Regions from separate parts of the Homo sapiens genome. Here all the other regions are linked to region 3. Evidence: promoter capture Hi-C in human tissues and cell types (Jung and others, 2019). All regions are on one chromosome and are shown on one strand. Each heading gives the region's core, a stretch centred on a gene start or on the middle of the fragment in contact. The rest is flanking DNA. Distances are from core to core; before and after follow the strand shown. Region 1 has its middle 520 kb from the start of TBX3. Region 2 has its middle 540 kb from the start of TBX3. Region 3 holds the start of TBX3 (T-box transcription factor 3).

Evidence for each region. Contacts are between HindIII fragments. The study calls those that stand out against the background at their distance.
Region 1: a contact is called between a fragment that was not itself captured here and the fragment with the promoter of TBX3 in region 3, in 2 of the 25 tissues and cell types used here (aorta and bladder).
Region 2: a fragment that was not itself captured here is called in contact with the fragment with the promoter of TBX3 in region 3 in 3 of the 25 tissues and cell types used here (aorta, mesendoderm cells and thymus).

Annotation. Positions count from the first base shown.
Region 1 is chr12:115,206,889-115,209,810 of GRCh38, reverse strand. No RefSeq gene overlaps it. Among named protein-coding and RNA genes, the nearest start is that of TBX3, 520 kb to the right of the region's middle. The HindIII fragment of the contact is 4,919 bases long and covers 1-2,922 here.
Region 2 is chr12:115,225,066-115,228,138 of GRCh38, reverse strand. No RefSeq gene overlaps it. Among named protein-coding and RNA genes, the nearest start is that of TBX3, 540 kb to the right of the region's middle. The HindIII fragment of the contact is 3,416 bases long and covers 1-3,023 here.
Region 3 is chr12:114,682,495-114,685,562 of GRCh38, reverse strand. TBX3 (T-box transcription factor 3) reads left to right here and starts at 1,388. Exons shown (of 7, transcript NM_005996.4): 1 at 1,388-2,751. The coding sequence starts at 2,363. TBX3-AS1 (TBX3 antisense RNA 1) reads right to left here. Exons shown (of 2, transcript NR_187552.1): 1 at 2,929-3,068. RefSeq lists a promoter at 877-1,386. The HindIII fragment of the contact is 7,860 bases long and covers 1-3,068 here.

The DNA of each region.
Region 1 (2,922 bases), core at 108-2,607, 520 kb before region 3:
AGGGCTTAACAAATGTTAGCTATGTTATTATCAGAAAGGGGAAGTCACTTGTTCAAAGCCACACAGAAGTAACTGGCAGAGGCAACCCAAGTCTGTCTGATCCCTAAAGCCCCACTTTTAAGCACAGGTGATGCAACAGAGATAGAAAGAGTCCCTTCCTTTGTCCGCCTTCTTTTGCTCTCTTGTTAACTCCAGGCACGGGTGCCTCAATATGCTATGTCCCTGGTCAGGGCTGGGAAGCTTGCCGTCGCTCTGTTCCCAGCCAAGGCATGCTCTCTCTTCAGTTTCCATTCTTGAAATGGGCCAGAGCCTCTACATAGGGAAGAAAGAAGGTCTGCAGGCAGGCTTGGCCACCCAGCTACGCACAGCTCTGTGGGATTCCTTTCTTTCTGCTTTCCTCTGCATGTCAGCATGACAGAGACCAGCCCAGGCCTGGTGTGCCTGGACACTGTCTGTCCCAGTCTTGCCCAGAACGCCCCACAGGGCAGTCCTCCAATGCTGGAGGCAGACACCACAAGCAATAAACGAATGGGCTGACCACCGCTGGGCAGCTGAGAATAATAATAACAGTAACGAATTGCATTGTTTACTGCGCGTTAGGAACAGGGCTGCACTCTTTACAAATAGGACCCTGTTTAATCTTCACTTCATCCCAGTGCAGCCTTTCTTATTAGTTTCCTTTTTACAGATAAGGAAACTGAGGCTCACAGAGGTCAAACTCTTTGTCCCAAATCACACAGTTTTAAGGAGAAGAGCCAGGATTCAAAGGCAATTCTGTTTGGTTCCGAAGTCTGGTTGTTATTCTCTATGGTACAAAGCCTTACCTGTTTGGCTGCCATGAATACTTTTTTCTTCCTGTTTTATGCAATTGGTCCAATACCAAAGGCCAGCTGAGAAATTAGTGATTCCTCATCACAGCCAGTGACAGAGCACCTAGGCCATCTGGCCCTGCCTCTCCCTCACCCTGGTGTGTAAGGCTCAATATGATGAATGCAAATACATGCAAATCATATGCAGAGCTGTCTGTCCCATTTTCTGAATTCCAAAGGGGCCCTCCAGAAAACTCTAGATCAGTATTTCCTAAATTTTAGGTATTTAAATACCATTTATCAATTCATAAAATCTGCATGACTACTTACTAACATTTTTTCTTTAAACCCAACTTATTTTCTTTACCAAAATACATTCACCCCAAAAGAAGAAAACTGAAGTCACCAACATAAATAGAAAACCATTACCACTGACCACAAATAGAAATGAAACCTACCAATAAATGTAATGAAAACCTTACAATGGTACTAGTAATCTCAGCTTGGTATTGTGGCCTTCCTGAAACTTTCAGGAGGATATTCTCTCTCTCTCTCTGGCAAAGGAGGGAGTAAGCATTAACTACCACAAATTTAGCCATTGAAAACGAAATATTATATTACAGACCCGTAGGTCAGAAGTTTCGGCACGGCTGGTCTCTGTTCACTTCTGAAGGCCCTTGGGTTACAGAGCTGAGGTCTCCATTCCCTTGCTGGTTGTCAGCTGGGGGGCGCTCTTACCTCCAGGAGGCCTCTCTCTGGTCTTCATGCAGGGCCCCCCACCTCTCAGAACCAGCAATAGATCCTTCAGTCCTTGTCATGCTGCCATCTTTCTGGTTCTCTGCAGCAAGGAGAGGTTCTCACGTGACTACATTGGTCTCACATGGATAATCTGGTTTAATCTCCCTCACCTAGGGCCTTGACCTTACTCACACCTGCAAAGCCCCTTTGCCAGGTATGGAATATCTTCACAGGTGTGAGTATCTTTGGGGGCTGTTAATCTGCCTGCCACAGCACATTAGCAGCAAACTGAGATGGCCTTGGTAGAATTACAAAGAGAGAAGAGGGGAGGTGGAGGGAGAAAGAAAGCAAACAATCAGCTCACTGAATGACTCTATATAATTTAAAGTCCTGTCTATGAACCACCTAAAATCATTCCTGGAAAATTCCTTGCTCTCTCTTACATCTTGCCCTGCCATAATCACAGCTGATAAGCTTTAGATGGCCTCAGTGGAAGGCATTATTTCCTTATCCTGGTCTCCAGGTCTGGGTCTGGCCAGGCATTGAGCCTCCATCTAAAACAGGAAGGAAGCAATGAAATGTCTCAGAAAGACTCCCCAAGAAGTTCTCTTCTTCCTTCTGGGCTGCCTGAAGATCCCACAAAACTCTCTAAGCTCAGAGTTGGCCCTTCCAGGTTTACTTCCTGCCTGAGAGCAAAGGAGCCCCCTCCAGCACTCTGCACGCTGCCATGTGCCATTCAGCCATGATCCGTGCAGGCATTAACAGCAGGCCTGGGGAAGACAAGACGTGTGTGCAGAAAGCATTGGGTGGCTGGCTTCTTTCTCTAACAGGCCTGGTCTCTCGCCCTTTGCTAATTACTTTGATCCTTTGCACTTTGTAAAAAAGCCCCACAACACCAATTGGTCCCCTCTGGCTTTAACCTTGCAACCCAGTTGGCCCTTGTAAAAAGTGGGGGTGGGTGCCAGAGGGGGGCCAGGCAAGCCCACATACAGGCACACACATGTATCCAGATCTGCGCTGACTGCCCGGGGTCTGTTTCTTTAATGGTTCTCTCCCAGGACTCTCACAAAAAAGGACAAATAAAACCCTTTTTACAAGATGGCAAGGCTGCGTGTAACATCGACTTCATCAACAACCAGTTCTTTCGTGAGTTCCTTTGCCTTTTAACATACTTTCTTTCCAGATCTCACTTTCTGCAACTGGCTGGCTCCTTCTTGCTTGCTCTTGCTTTTTGCAGCTCTGGAAAGTCTCCTTTCCCACTCCCTGTCCCAGGCCCAACCCTGACCCTTGCCAAATCCTCACTTTCATCTGCTCTTGCTCCTTTTCCCCATTCTGTGAAGCTACCGAGGAAGCAAAGTGGATTTGCCATTTGGGG
Region 2 (3,073 bases), core at 66-2,565, 540 kb before region 3:
GTTAATTTGTATGCCCACAATTTGAGAGAATTGTTCTAAACGATTCAAGGACAACATTTCTCAAAGTGTCTTCATGAAAAACGATTTCTTTACTCTCCAAAGTTGGGGTTCATGGACAAAACAAGTCGGGAAGGGTTAATAAGATCTAAAGCTTTTTTGAAGATTTGCAATGTACATTAGCATACCAAAGGCTCTGAAAAGTCCTAAAGTAGAAAAATCTATTGAAGAAAATGTAACCAAGTATTTCCCAAGTATATCCCATATTTGATGATCAATTTTTTTTCTGCATACTAACCCCCTACCTCGCCCAGTCACCTATCAGGAGTGCCAGAAAATTAATGTTCTACAGAGCACATTTTTAGAAAAACAAATCTAGGTGATTGACATAAATTATATCTGTGGACACTCAGAGTTGGAGCTCATAAATAGCATTTGGTTGCCCAATAATGGAAATGTAAAATAAATGGATTCTAGCTTGAAAGGTGTGTTGCAGAGTTAATAGGAACCTACTCACCTCTATTGGAAGCTCTCCTCAGGAGCACTTAGGAACTCCCTAAAATAGAATACTTAATCCTTTACTCCTGACTCAGGCAAGGGGAAAGCAATGGCCTGGGTGATTCAGCCTTTTCCTCCCTGTTGAAACTGTTGACTTTGCCATATAACCTCTTTGATGGTGCTGAAGTCAGAACTTTGCTCATCTTCCAGGCACCCAGTTTAAAAGAGCTGAGATTAGCTCAATGACTCACGAGTTTTCCCTGTCACTTGCATGTGTTATTCCAGAACAGAACCCAGGCTGGCACCGCCATGTGTGAAATTCCTCGGTGCTGCTCAGGCCCAGCCCTCAGGCTGCTGGTTAGATGGCCCAGTCAACGTAACCTTCTCATGCCAATCCCAAAGCTTGCAGCCAATTGCCAAGGTGGACACTGGCTGACCTGAGTCAGGATGATGCAACTCTAGCTTCCTCATTCTCCCCATGCCCTCCTTCTTTGTAAATTCTGGTCAATTTCCAGAACTCAGAGCTAATGGGGGACCTGACTCGGCCACAAGAGTTTCAGGCAGCACCTAGTCCCTGAGCCCTATGACATGCCAGACAGCCCATGGAAAGTAAGAGGGAGAATCTTCCTCTTACTATTTCAGAATTTCTCAGCTGTTGCCTCAAAGTTAAATGCAGATGATCAATGAGTGGAAAATTGGCTTGGAAAGAGCAAATTGGATCTTGTGACATCGTGAGATTATTTTATAGGACACATGTAGCAGGTCAAAAGTTGGAGACCAGATAGACATTCTTCATTTTCCTTTCCAGTTCATTGATCCATCTGTTCAAGCTAGAATGCAGCCTCCCACTAGAATACGGGTTCCATGGAAGCATATCACTTTTCTGTTTTGTTCACCACTGTATTCCCAGGGCCTAAGTTAGTGTCTGGTATAAAGCAGATGCTCAACAAACAAATGCTTGTTGAATGAGTTCAACCAACGATTTGGTAGATTGAAGGTGGTCATAAATTGTTTGGACACTCTTAGGTTAACAGGTGATGTGTTTATGACTTCTTAAATCTGAGCTCTGTGACGGATCAATAGAATACAGTAGTTGAACTTTATACATGGTGTCTCATAGCACCAGAAAACCCAGGGGAAAAAAAGCAGTAAGGTTTCTTATGACCTAGCTTTGGAAGTTCCAGCCATTAGTTCCACCATATTCTGTTGGTCAAGTGAGTTGTTAAGGCCAGTCCAGATTCAGGGGGGAGGGTGTTTAGTCTCTGCTTCTCAACAATGCATGTAGCATGAGCTCCATTCCCCAAGGATTTAGCTATCTCCTCAACAGGAAGAGAAGCAAAGAATTTGTGACCATTTTTAATCTACCACACCTACCTTTCAGCATTGTTGAGAGGACTAAATAGGATGATTTATACCTGGTGTTTTTCTGCACGTTAGGAAAGACGTCCCTTCCTCTGGGTTAATACAGCTATTTGGCAAGCAGTGATTGGCCCGGGATTTAGCACCTCTGTGCCTCCTTAGCAAGCTGGTCTTGGGCAGGATGCAATCTGCAAAACTGTACAGAGCAATGCTGCCTAACACATAGAAAACCCAGCAGATGATATATATTGCTAAAATTAGCTGACACTGTCACTGCAAAGGGCATCAGCTGTTTTGGCCAACCTAATATCTATTTCTTTTCTTTCTGGTCTTAGCATGCTCATTTCCCTTTTTGAAACTTGTTCCCACCCACTGTTGTTACATGCAGTCTGCGTGGGACAGTCACTCAAACCCTGACTGCCTAGAGCTAAGAGGCTGTCATGTGATTCAGGTTGATCACATTACTTACTGCTACTTAGATCCCAAGTCCAACCAGCTCCCTGACCCCTCTGACGTCTGGTTCTTCTATTTTGTGAGCTACTTCTTCCAATTCTTCCAATACTAGCGTTTTGGGCTTATGTTAGCCAGAATAGGTTTCTGTTGCTTACAATCAAATAACCTATAAAGATAGCTATTCTGGCGCCTTGATCATACAGGTTTATTTCTTTTCCTGGATACACCCACACCTTGGTCACTGGGCTCTTTCTCATCACCTCTTAGTCCTAGCAGTTGGTAAAATGTCATCTCTAATATTTGGTTGGTATTTTCTCTTCTGGGTCAAACCATGAGCAAGTGGCTCAGTGCAATAAAAATCATGCATTAAGGTTGAAGTTGGTCAGTTCAAACATGTTCTAAATTCAAGCTGTGTGACCTTGGTCGAGTTAGCTAACATCTAAGTCTCTATTTATGTATTTTCAAAATAAGGATAATGCCTGTTGTTTACATAGGAAGGAGGTCAGTACCTGCTGGTTCCCTTCCACCTATCATGAGTGTCTGTTTGCTCAGCTCAGAGCTAGGCACTGGGAGGGATACAGAACTACGTGAGGCATAAAGCCTATGCTCATGGAATTTGGGGTTAGGGCATGCAGACTAAGCCACACAAAGAGACTAACAACTATAATGTGGCAGGTGGGCCTTGTGAACAGAAAGCTATGCCAGGATGTATCCCATAATAAAAACCTTCCTTCTGTGGCCAGCTCAGCACTGAATGCTTTATTCA
Region 3 (3,068 bases), core at 139-2,638:
CCTCTGAGGTGGGGGCGTTTCACGGTTTGTTTTACAAATTCACCCTCCCTCCCCGACTTCTGGCCAGATTAAGTCCCCGGGGTGGAGAAAGAACTGAGGCACCGAGAGATAAGTGCGATGCCTAGAGAAGATACCAGGCTGGCGCGCCTCCCCCAACCCAATCGCCCACCCCTTACCCTGTGCTGTGCACCCAGCCGGGCCTCGAGGTGAGGGCAGCGGCTTGGAGGGGACAGGCTCAGAACCCAGTCTCTCGCTGTGCTCGCTTTGTCCAGATCCTCCATTCTCTTCTCTACACCCACACCCACATCCAGGTGGAATATGGGGGCCCGCATGCAAATGAAAGACGAGATCCAAAAGGGCTGGTAAATGCATTTCATAAAAATCCCAAATCCATCTTCCCCAGGAGCTCAGGCAGGGCCAGCCGCGCAGGCTGTGTACGTGTTTGTGTGTACGTGTTTTTCGGTGTGTGTTTCAGTCCCAGTGTGTTGGCGCGTGTTCGAGTACAGATACACCGGGGGTGTTTGGGTACCCGCACATGGCTGCGGGTGGGGCGCAGTGGAGAGGAAGCCCACACATGCGTGTGCTGAGATATGGCCGCATCCTTGTGCTCCCCCAGCCCAGACGCAGGGGAGACCAGCACCGAGACACCCGAGCTCGGGAGCCCTTCAGCGGCGGCCGGGCGGAGCTTGGCTCCACGTGGGGCTGGAGAGCACGCAAGCCTGGAGTCTCGGCGCTCGCTTCTCGGCTGCCGCCGGCTTTTGTAGAACCGAGTGGCCGGATGGCAGCTCGCGGGGAGGCTCGGCCACCCGCCCGGCTCGCCCGGGGCGGGGAGAAGAAGGAGAGCTGGAGAGAGAACCGGCCGCGGCGGTCGGAGAGGCGAGCGGAGTGCAAGAGAGGCGAGCGCCCCTGCCCGGCGCCCGGGCGCGCTCTCCGCCTTCCCCGCCCGGCTCGCCTGCTCGCTGGCTCCCTCCCTCTCTCCCTCCCCCTTCCTCCTTGGCCCTGCCTCCTCCCTCGATCCCCGGCTGGATGACTGAGGCATTTCAGACGTGGGCTGAACCAGAGCGAGCGAGCGAGCTCAGGGGCTGCAGCGATCTCTCGATAAGCCACCTAGAGGCGACTCTGTGCGCGCGCGCTCCCCAGTGGCTCCCGCCCGCCCTCTGATCATGTTGACATATTCACAGGACAGGCAGTAGTACCGATGCGGCGCTGCGACGTTACAGTTTCCGACACCTTCTTTTTATAACTCAGCTCTATCCCCCAGCACTCGACCTGTGAAAACCACGCCTATGCAGCAACACAATTGGTCCGAAAGCGTCAAAGAGCCAATCAAGAGGCCTCCGGCTCCCCGCAGCCCACAGCGCAGCCCGACCTTCTAGAGCCGCCGAGCAGACGCCCGGTGAATTCTAGAGGCGGCGGAGGGTGGCGAGGAGCTCTCGCTTTCTCTCGCTCCCTCCCTCTCCGACTCCGTCTCTCTCTCTCTCTCTCTCTCTCCCCTCCCTCTCTTTCCCTCTGTTCCATTTTTTCCCCCTCTAAATCCTCCCTGCCCTGCGCGCCTGGACACAGATTTAGGAAGCGAATTCGCTCACGTTTTAGGACAAGGAAGAGAGAGAGGCACGGGAGAAGAGCCCAGCAAGATTTGGATTGAAACCGAGACACCCTCCGGAGGCTCGGAGCAGAGGAAGGAGGAGGAGGGCGGCGAACGGAAGCCAGTTTGCAATTCAAGTTTTGATAGCGCTGGTAGAAGGGGGTTTAAATCAGATTTTTTTTTTTTTAAAGGAGAGAGACTTTTTCCGCTCTCTCGCTCCCTGTTAAAGCCGGGTCTAGCACAGCTGCAGACGCCACCAGCGAGAAAGAGGGAGAGGAAGACAGATAGGGGGCGGGGGAAGAAGAAAAAGAAAGGTAAAAAGTCTTCTAGGAGAACCTTTCACATTTGCAACAAAAGACCTAGGGGCTGGAGAGAGATTCCTGGGACGCAGGGCTGGAGTGTCTATTTCGAGCTCAGCGGCAGGGCTCGGGCGCGAGTCGAGACCCTGCTCGCTCCTCTCGCTTCTGAAACCGACGTTCAGGAGCGGCTTTTTAAAAACGCAAGGCACAAGGACGGTCACCCGCGCGACTATGTTTGCTGATTTTTCGCCTTGCCCTCTTTAAAAGCGGCCTCCCATTCTCCAAAAGACACTTCCCCTCCTCCCTTTGAAGTGCATTAGTTGTGATTTCTGCCTCCTTTTCTTTTTTCTTTCTTTTTTGTTTTGCTTTTTCCCCCCTTTTGAATTATGTGCTGCTGTTAAACAACAACAAAAAAACAACAAAACACAGCAGCTGCGGACTTGTCCCCGGCTGGAGCCCAGCGCCCCGCCTGGAGTGGATGAGCCTCTCCATGAGAGATCCGGTCATTCCTGGGACAAGCATGGCCTACCATCCGTTCCTACCTCACCGGGCGCCGGACTTCGCCATGAGCGCGGTGCTGGGTCACCAGCCGCCGTTCTTCCCCGCGCTGACGCTGCCTCCCAACGGCGCGGCGGCGCTCTCGCTGCCGGGCGCCCTGGCCAAGCCGATCATGGATCAATTGGTGGGGGCGGCCGAGACCGGCATCCCGTTCTCCTCCCTGGGGCCCCAGGCGCATCTGAGGCCTTTGAAGACCATGGAGCCCGAAGAAGAGGTGGAGGACGACCCCAAGGTGCACCTGGAGGCTAAAGAACTTTGGGATCAGTTTCACAAGCGGGGCACCGAGATGGTCATTACCAAGTCGGGAAGGTAAGCAGTGGGGGCCTCCTCCCCTAAGCTGTTGGAGAGTTTTTTCCTCCCTTTATTTCTCTGCTCCCAGAACAGTCGGTTGGTCGGTTATTACGGCTTGGACGAAAAGTTAGTTCCCCTAGAAATGTATGCACAGACTTCCAGGCCCTGCCCCGGTGGCAGGAAATTTCAGCTTACCTGGGCATCTGCATGGGTCTTGCATTTGGTCTGCATCCTGGGTTCCCTCCCGAACAGACAGAATTTTTCAGTGGAGCACAGACATCCCTGCAGGGAGCAGGAAAGAAAAAAAAAAAAGGCACTCTACTGCAAGAAACTCA